3 separate regions of the Homo sapiens genome follow, and regions 1 and 3 are each linked to region 2. The links are contacts of gene promoters, found by promoter capture Hi-C in human tissues and cell types (Jung and others, 2019). All regions are on one chromosome and are shown on one strand. Each heading gives the region's core, a stretch centred on a gene start or on the middle of the fragment in contact. The rest is flanking DNA. Distances are from core to core; before and after follow the strand shown.

What was found. The method cuts DNA at HindIII sites, captures the fragments that hold promoters and counts their contacts. A contact is called where the count stands out against the background at its distance.
Region 1: a fragment that was not itself captured here is called in contact with the fragment with the promoter of ADM5 in region 2 in 2 of the 25 tissues and cell types used here (heart left ventricle and pancreas).
Region 3: a fragment that was not itself captured here is called in contact with the fragment with the promoter of ADM5 in region 2 in 1 of the 25 tissues and cell types used here (pancreas).

What each region holds. Positions count from the first base shown.
Region 1 is chr19:49,822,352-49,825,051 of GRCh38, reverse strand. All of the region lies in intron 3 of MED25 (mediator complex subunit 25), which reads right to left. Among named protein-coding and RNA genes, the nearest start is that of MED25, 5.4 kb to the right of the region's middle. The HindIII fragment of the contact is 3,177 bases long and covers 1-2,700 here.
Region 2 is chr19:49,688,185-49,690,884 of GRCh38, reverse strand. ADM5 (adrenomedullin 5 (putative)) reads right to left here and starts at 1,291. Exons shown (of 2, transcript NM_001101340.2): 1 at 974-1,291; 2 at 310-779. The coding sequence starts at 1,047. The coding sequence ends at 392. PRMT1 (protein arginine methyltransferase 1) reads right to left here. Exons shown (of 11, transcript NM_001536.6): 11 at 2,438-2,700. The coding sequence ends at 2,640. It also overlaps a transcript of CPT1C not described here. RefSeq lists a silencer at 832-901 and an enhancer at 2,210-2,700. The HindIII fragment of the contact is 11,781 bases long and covers 1-2,601 here.
Region 3 is chr19:49,908,416-49,911,115 of GRCh38, reverse strand. NUP62 (nucleoporin 62) reads left to right here. Exons shown (of 3, transcript NM_016553.5): 3 at 1,232-2,700. The coding sequence starts at 1,309. It also overlaps a transcript of IL4I1 not described here. Among named protein-coding and RNA genes, the nearest start is that of IL4I1, 13 kb to the right of the region's middle. RefSeq lists a silencer at 662-741 and an enhancer at 2,479-2,700. The HindIII fragment of the contact is 3,328 bases long and covers 1-2,700 here.

The sequences.
Region 1 (2,700 bases), core at 196-2,695, 130 kb before region 2:
CAAGTTTATGATAAATTCCAAATAAACCCCTTGATATGGCAGACACAAAATAAAAATAAAAGCCCCCTAGGTGACACAAGTGGGCTCTGACTTGGTGTTCCCAAGTCCTCTAACTTACTCCCATTTGTTCTACCCAGTATCATTCCCCGGGGTCTCTGCTGCCCGCTTTCATCGGCTAACAGGTGCCTGGAGCCCCAGGAGGTCAAAATGAGTGAATGTTAACAGCATCCGGCCATGACCAAGGGCTCCCTACACACGGCCTGTCACCCAGGCAAACTAGTTCCATGAGGGCCAGGACCTTGCCTATCTCATGCCCACTAACTCCTTGGTGCCCAGGACGATTTGTTCCACAAACATTTGTTGAATTAATGAGTGAACATATGAATGAACAACTGAGTTGTCATAATGTTATGGGAAACACACTGGGTCTATTTTCCTTCCACCTCTTTTTTTTTTTTTTTTTTCCCGAGACAGGGTCTCGCTCTTTCACCCAGGCTGGAGTGCGGTGGCACAATCTCGGCTCACTGCAACCTCTGCCTCCCAGTCTCAGTTGATCCTCCTACCTCAGCCTCCTGAGTAGCTGGGACTACAGGTGTGCACCACCATGCCTGGTTAATTTTTTCTATTTATTTGTTGTTTTTGTATTACATACTAATTCATTTATTCAGCCAGTCTCCTGAAGCCCCGTGGGTGCCAAGCCCCAGCTGGAAGCAAATGGCAGAAGCACCCAGGGACCTGGACATTCACAGTCCAGAGGTGTGGGGCTGTGACAGGTCATGGAGGCAGAGGAGGAAGCATCTGGCTGCAAGAATCGGGAAGGTTTCCCAGGGTATAAGACACCTGAGCTGGGTCTGGAAGGCTATGCAGTGTCTTCCAGGGTGGTTAGTATTAAATGCATTCTGGACATTCATTCTACAGAATTTACCCGAGGCCTCCTGTGTACCAGGCCCTGTGCTGGCTGCCAGGCACTTGAGGAGCATCAGACTTGGACCTGGGCCTCAAGAAGTCTCCATTTAACATCACTCAAGACTGTCTTACCGGTCTCTCCCAGTGGTCTCAAATGGAATACATTTTGCGCCCCCTTCCCAGAGGATATTTTATAATGCCTGGAGACATTTTTGGTTGTCACACCTTTGGGAGGGGGCTACCGGCATCTAGTGAGTAGAGGCCAAGGATGATGTTAAACATCCTACAATACCCAGGACGGCCCCCACTACAAGGAATGACTGTGTCCACAGTGTCACTAGGGCCAAGGATGAGAAACCCTGCTCTGTGTTACCTACGAATTCCAGCTACCGCGAAGGGGAAGCTTCTGTGTCACCTTTTCACTATATGTCCTGCACCCAGCACTTGCACGCACATACTGGAACAAAGCAGATACTCAACAAACACCTGCTGCAGAAGCATACAGAGGTAACGGCCGCTACGAACAGGTGTTGTTTAATGAACCTTGACTGCAGACCAGGCCCTAAGCGACACACAGCAAGCAACTTAGCTCCTGTGATCTTCTAACAACACGGAGATACACGCGACCATTATCCATTTGCAAACCAGGAGAGTGAGGCACAAAATCCTAGGAAACACTTACACGGCACTTAATACATGCCAGGCACTGTATTAAACATCATCAACTAACTTAATTCTCCAAACATCGCTGTGAGGTTGCGGTACCCAGCCCCCAATACAGCACCCAGCAATCCAGCCTCTTGCTATTTACACACTGGGTAGTCTCCTCCTACACTGAACGGGATAGGCTTATACTGCACACCAAATGCAGTATGGCAGAAGTGGACTTGGCACCGCAGCTCAGGCCTGTGATCTCAGCACTCCAGCACTTAGGGAGGTCAAGGCAGGAGGATCGCTTGAGGCCAGGAGTTCAAGACCAGTCTGAGCAACACAGCAAGACCTCATCTCTACAAGAATTAAAATAAAGAAATCAGCCATGCATGGTGGTGCCCACCTGCAGTCCTAGGTACTCAGGAGGCTGAGGTGGGAGGATCACTTGAGCCCGAGAGGTCGAGGCTGCAGCAAGCTATGATCCCACCACTGCACTCCAATCTGGGCAACAGAGCAAGACCCTGTCTCAGGTTAAAAAACAGAATGTAGGCCAGGCGCGGTGGCTCACGCCTGTAATCCCAGCACTTTGGGAGGCCGAGGCGGGTGGATCACAAGGTCAGGAGACCGAGACCATCCCGGCTAACACAGTGAAACCCTGTCTCTACTAAAAATACAAAAAATTAGCTGGGTGTGGTGGCGGGCACCTGTAGTCCCAGCTACTCAGGAGGCTGAGGCAGGAGAATGGCGTGAACTCGGGAGGCGGAGCTTGCAGTGAGCTGAGATCGCACCACTGCACTTCAGCCTGGACAACAGAGCGAGACTCTGTCTCAAAAAAAAAAAAAAAAAAAAAAAAAGAATGTAACAGAAATAATGACATGACGTGTAACTTCCAAGACTTGATTACAAAGAGCCTAGTGGGGCCTCTGGGTGCAGCATCTCATGCCTCTAATCCCAGCACTTAGGGACACTGAAGTGGAGGATCACTTGAGACCAGGAGTTCAAAACCAGCCTGGGCAACATTGCAGGACCTTGTCTCCACAAAAAAAACAATTTTTTTTTGAGACAGGGTCTCAGTCAGTCAGTCACCCAAGCTGGAGCGCAGTGGTGCGATCTCTCCACCTCCTGGCTTGAAGTGATTCTCCT
Region 2 (2,700 bases), core at 42-2,541:
ACAAGGCTCAGCTGGGAGGTCGCAGCCCACCCCAGGTGCATTATAACGTCAGGCGCGTAGGGTGCCGGAGCAAATCTCAGCCCTTTCACGCCAGGGAGGGAGGAGGGATGTTTGGGGGTCAGGACGGCCCGCCAAAACCACCCACGGAAGGTGCATGGATTGAGTTGGCAAGAAAGGCGCCACAGCGGGTTGGATTCAAGGTAGACAGTGGGACTTCCGTGAGGGAGAAGCAGCATGGCTAATAGAGAAAGGTATATTAGAGACCCAGCCTCGACTGAGAGGTCGAAATAGGTACAGAGAAGCAGAGACTGAAACACGGAACTCTTGTTTATTCGGCTCTGGGCGTCAGTGTTCTTCGCCCAGCCTGGTCCCGTGTGCTTCTAGGTCCAACCTAGTCGCAGCCCGGGGAGGGACTGGGGAAGACGGTTTCAGGGGCTGGAGTTAGGGGAGAAGAAATGTGGAGTAGAAGCTCCAACATACAGATAGGCAAACTGAAGCCGAGGAGGGGACGAGCCGTGCCCGAGGTCACCCAGCGAGCTGGGCACTGCGCTAGCCCCCTCGCTGCAGGCCGGAATCCTGGGAACCGAGCCGGGCTTCCGCCTCGCGCCACCGGCGGCGCCCATAGCTGTAGGGGTCCTGGGGCTCGTGGCTGGCCTTCCCCGAGGGCTCCTTGGTGGAGACAGCGAATCCAGTATATGATCTCCGCCAGGCGGTGGGTCCGGCATACGCCCAGGTAGCAGACGTGCCCGCGGTGCTGGGGGACCTGGTGCTGGCCTCGCCTGGAGAGGGAGCGTGGGAGAAAACCGGGTTCAAACCGAATTGAGAGATGGAGCGTGATGGAGGTGGGCACCCAAGCACTCCAAGACCAGCGGGGAGGCTTACAGATCACCTGCCCGTTCCGCGGCCGGGAGAGGGCGCTCGCCCTTTACGGTCTCCCTCCCGCCCTGTCCCTGCTGCCACCCGGGTTTCTCACCTGGCTGCAGTGTCCAGGTCCCCTTGGGCGGAGAAGGCGAGGAGCAACAGCAGGATGAGGATGTGGATAGTCATCGTGGGCAGGGCGGGTCAGGATCCGTGGCCCGTAGTTGCGGCCACCCCGCCCCGTTCCCGCACCGGGCTGATCGCCTCTGGGTGCAGCTCTGGAGCCAGGTACCAGGGCCAGTCCCCACTTCCCAGGCGGGGAACACTGAGGCCAAAAGTCTGTGGGAAGAGGCCGCACCACACCAGAGGGGCAGGATTCAAACCCGGGTCCCCGCTTCCCGCACCGCGGCTCCAGAGACCTCACTGGGTGTGTGGGGTCACACCAGCTGCTGTCTATCCCCCTAGGAGGTCTGTGGAGACTCGCCCCCTTCAAAGCGTGGGGAAATGGGGCGGGGCCAATGACACCCGCAGGTAGCTAAGCAGCGGGATTCCAAGAAAAGGGGTGGCGGCGGGGAAGCGCTGGCTCTGGTTGTAGATGCGACCTCACCCTCACCCTGTCGGGAAGCCGGTTAGTAGACAGTTGGGACCCTGGAACCTCGGGGGCCAGGCAATGCAGGGCAAGTGCACATGCGGCCCCCTGGAGGGCGTGGAGCGAGGGAGACCCCAAACACACTGAGGAGCGCCCCTCCGGAAGAGAAAAGGCCGAGGTGTCAGGCACTCGCCGGTGAGGGCTCCAGTTGCACTGAAGCAGGTGTAGCCAGGGCTGTTCAACGAGGAGGGTGTCCTGGGTCAACCAGGTCGAGTGCACAGTATTGTGGGGGACCCAGGACCCCGTGGCCAGGCCCTGAGGGTGGAAGGGTGGGTGCAGACGCCATGTCTGCAGCAGAGGCAGAGGGACCTCGTCTTCACCTCTGTAAGATGGGTAGGCCCTGCCACCTTACAGCTGCAACTCCCACTGACCTCCATGGAGGGCAAGTCCCCAGCCCTAAGCCCCAAGCCATTCTAGGGGAGGAAGCAGGGCCACTCCCCCATGAGAAATTCTATCCTTGCAAACATACACCCCCAACCCACTCAGTGTCCCCAGCTGCAGAGGGCTGGGCACAGTTGGGCCTTGAAGGGACCCGAACAGGAAAAAACAGCCAGAGAGGAACAATGTCGAGTGTTGGGGGGAGGTGGGGAGACTGTTCTGGGAAACTTGAGGGCTGGCTGTGCTGGAAAGCCACCCCCATCCCCTACTAGGCAGGACACGGGTACCGCAGAGGGGAGGGGCGCAGACCCAGGAGAGGGATGAAAAGAGTTGGACAAAGACCCTGAGAGACAGCTGTGGAGGACAGGGACCCCGAGAAGGAACCAAGGAAGGGGAGCAAGAGGCCTAGAGACGGGGGACGGGAGACGCAGATCCACAGAATGGCAGCCACCAGCAGGTGCCAAGGCCGGTCCCCCCACTGCTGAGGCTGGCACTGCAGTACCTGCGAAAGGAACCCCAAACCTCCTTTGCCCCCAGGAAACAAAGCCAGACCCCAGCTGAGGATTTATTGGCGTAAATGCAACCATATAAAAACATAAGTTATGAAAAACACAGTCACGATGTGCCCTCCCCATCCCCCCAGCCCAGGCCCCTAAAACCCCCTTCTGCGGGAGGGAGGGAGAGGAAGGGGGAGCCCCGAAACCGCCTAGGAACGCTCAGCCCCTGGGCTCGTGCAGGGCGGGAGAGCCGGGCCTCAGCGCATCCGGTAGTCGGTGGAGCAGGACAGCTCGCACAGCTGGCCCTTGAAGTCCAGG
Region 3 (2,700 bases), core at 1-2,500, 220 kb before region 2:
AGGGCAACAGAGTGAGATCCCATTTCCACAAAAAATAAAAAAGATTATCCACGCATGGTGGCATGCACCTGTAGTCCTAGCTACTCTGGGAGGCTGAGGTGGGAGGATCACTTGGGTCCAGGAGGTTGAGGCTGCAGTGAGTTGTGATCATGTCACTGCATTCCAGCTAGTATGACAGAAAAAAACCCTTTCCCAAAAGAAAAAGAAACCACCCCTATTCAGCACTCCCTCTCACCCTTTCCTCACCAGGTAACCTTTGACCTTCCTGCTGATAGATGGCACCACTGGGAGATTTTTCAGTTAGACATTACCAAAATCAAGTCAGTTTGAACTGAATGGAAATACTGTGGCCCATGGGTCTTCTGGGGTGCTCTTTATCCCTCCCCCACCCCCACCCCCACCCATCTCTGGTGGGGCTCATGGTCTCCCGTGATGTCCCAGTGTCTGCAGATGGTTGAGAAGGTGTCCAAGGGAGGCCCAGGTGCAATCCTCCACACCACACCTACAGGTGAAGGAGGCAGCTGCCTTCCAAGCCTGGAGAAAACCCCAGGGGAGGCTCCGATTGCCTGGCTCAGGTCTCAGTTTATCCTTGAGCCAATCACTGCAGCCAGGGGCATCTGTGCTCTGAGCACATGGGTTTCAGACCCTCCCCTGAGTTAGGAGGAGGAGTTCCAGTGTCCTCTCCTGCTCTTAGAGAGTGCAGGTGTGGGCCTGGGGGGCCTTCAGCAACCCAGACCCTGCCATCCAGCCTGGGTTCCCGGCCCCATCTCTCTCTCTGAGGTCCAGAGAGGCCCTCAGGGTGGCAAGAGCTGATCCGCTCACACCCTGCTAGAGTCAGCCAGGGAACCTCACTGGGTCCCACGCTGGGAGCAGGTCCTACAGCTGTTCTTGTGTGTCCTAGTCCCGCTTGTGGCAGTGCCTCAAATCTGATCTCCTCAGGCTGAGGTGGGTCCAAGGTCCTGTTCTCCCGCCTCGTCCTCCACAGAGTGGGAGCTTTCCACTGGGCTGAACATGGCCACGCACGTCCCTAGCACCCCGGCTCCTCGTACCTGACCCCTGGGGCGTGCTTTTGTGCTTCTGGATCCTTCTCGATGTAGCAGAGCCTAGTTTAGGTTACACAGCATGCATCATTATCCCATCCCACCACCCTCCAAACCGACTGTGCCCAGTCATGCCACTGAGCTTGCCTTTCCAAAACTGCCATCTGACAATGTCACTTCCTCTGCTTTAGAAATCTTCCCAAGGCTGCAGACACCGACGGATTTGCTTTGGGAGCCAGAGTAGCTGCCGCCACCAGAGTCCGGAGCCATGAGCGGGTTTAATTTTGGAGGCACTGGGGCCCCTACAGGCGGGTTCACGTTTGGCACTGCAAAGACGGCAACAACCACACCTGCTACAGGGTTTTCTTTCTCCACCTCTGGCACTGGAGGGTTTAATTTTGGGGCTCCCTTCCAACCAGCCACAAGTACCCCTTCCACCGGCCTGTTCTCACTTGCCACCCAGACTCCGGCCACACAGACGACAGGCTTCACTTTTGGAACAGCGACTCTTGCTTCGGGGGGAACTGGATTTTCTTTGGGGATCGGTGCTTCAAAGCTCAACTTGAGCAACACAGCTGCCACCCCAGCCATGGCAAACCCCAGCGGCTTTGGGCTGGGCAGCAGCAACCTCACTAATGCCATATCGAGCACCGTCACCTCCAGCCAGGGCACAGCACCCACCGGCTTTGTGTTTGGCCCCTCCACCACCTCTGTGGCTCCAGCTACCACATCTGGAGGCTTCTCATTCACTGGTGGAAGCACGGCCCAACCCTCCGGTTTCAACATTGGCTCAGCAGGGAATTCAGCCCAGCCCACGGCACCTGCCACGTTGCCCTTCACTCCGGCCACGCCAGCAGCCACCACAGCAGGTGCCACACAGCCAGCTGCTCCCACACCCACAGCCACCATCACCAGCACTGGGCCCAGCCTCTTTGCGTCAATAGCAACTGCTCCAACCTCATCTGCCACCACTGGACTCTCCCTCTGTACCCCTGTGACCACAGCGGGCGCCCCCACTGCTGGGACACAGGGCTTCAGCTTAAAGGCACCTGGAGCAGCTTCCGGCACCTCCACAACAACATCCACCGCTGCCACCGCCACCGCCACCACCACCAGCAGCAGCAGCACCACCGGCTTTGCCTTGAATTTAAAACCACTGGCGCCAGCCGGGATCCCCAGCAATACAGCAGCTGCCGTGACCGCTCCACCTGGCCCTGGCGCAGCTGCAGGGGCGGCTGCCAGCTCCGCCATGACCTACGCGCAGCTGGAGAGCCTGATCAACAAATGGAGCCTGGAGCTAGAGGACCAGGAGCGGCACTTCCTCCAGCAGGCCACCCAGGTCAACGCCTGGGACCGCACGCTGATCGAGAATGGAGAAAAGATCACCAGCCTGCACCGCGAGGTGGAGAAGGTGAAGCTGGACCAGAAGAGGCTGGACCAGGAGCTCGACTTCATCCTGTCCCAGCAGAAGGAGCTGGAAGACCTGCTGAGCCCACTGGAGGAGTTGGTCAAGGAGCAGAGCGGGACCATCTACCTGCAGCACGCGGATGAGGAGCGTGAGAAAACCTACAAGCTGGCTGAGAACATCGATGCACAGCTCAAGCGCATGGCCCAGGATCTCAAGGACATCATCGAGCACCTGAACACGTCCGGGGCCCCC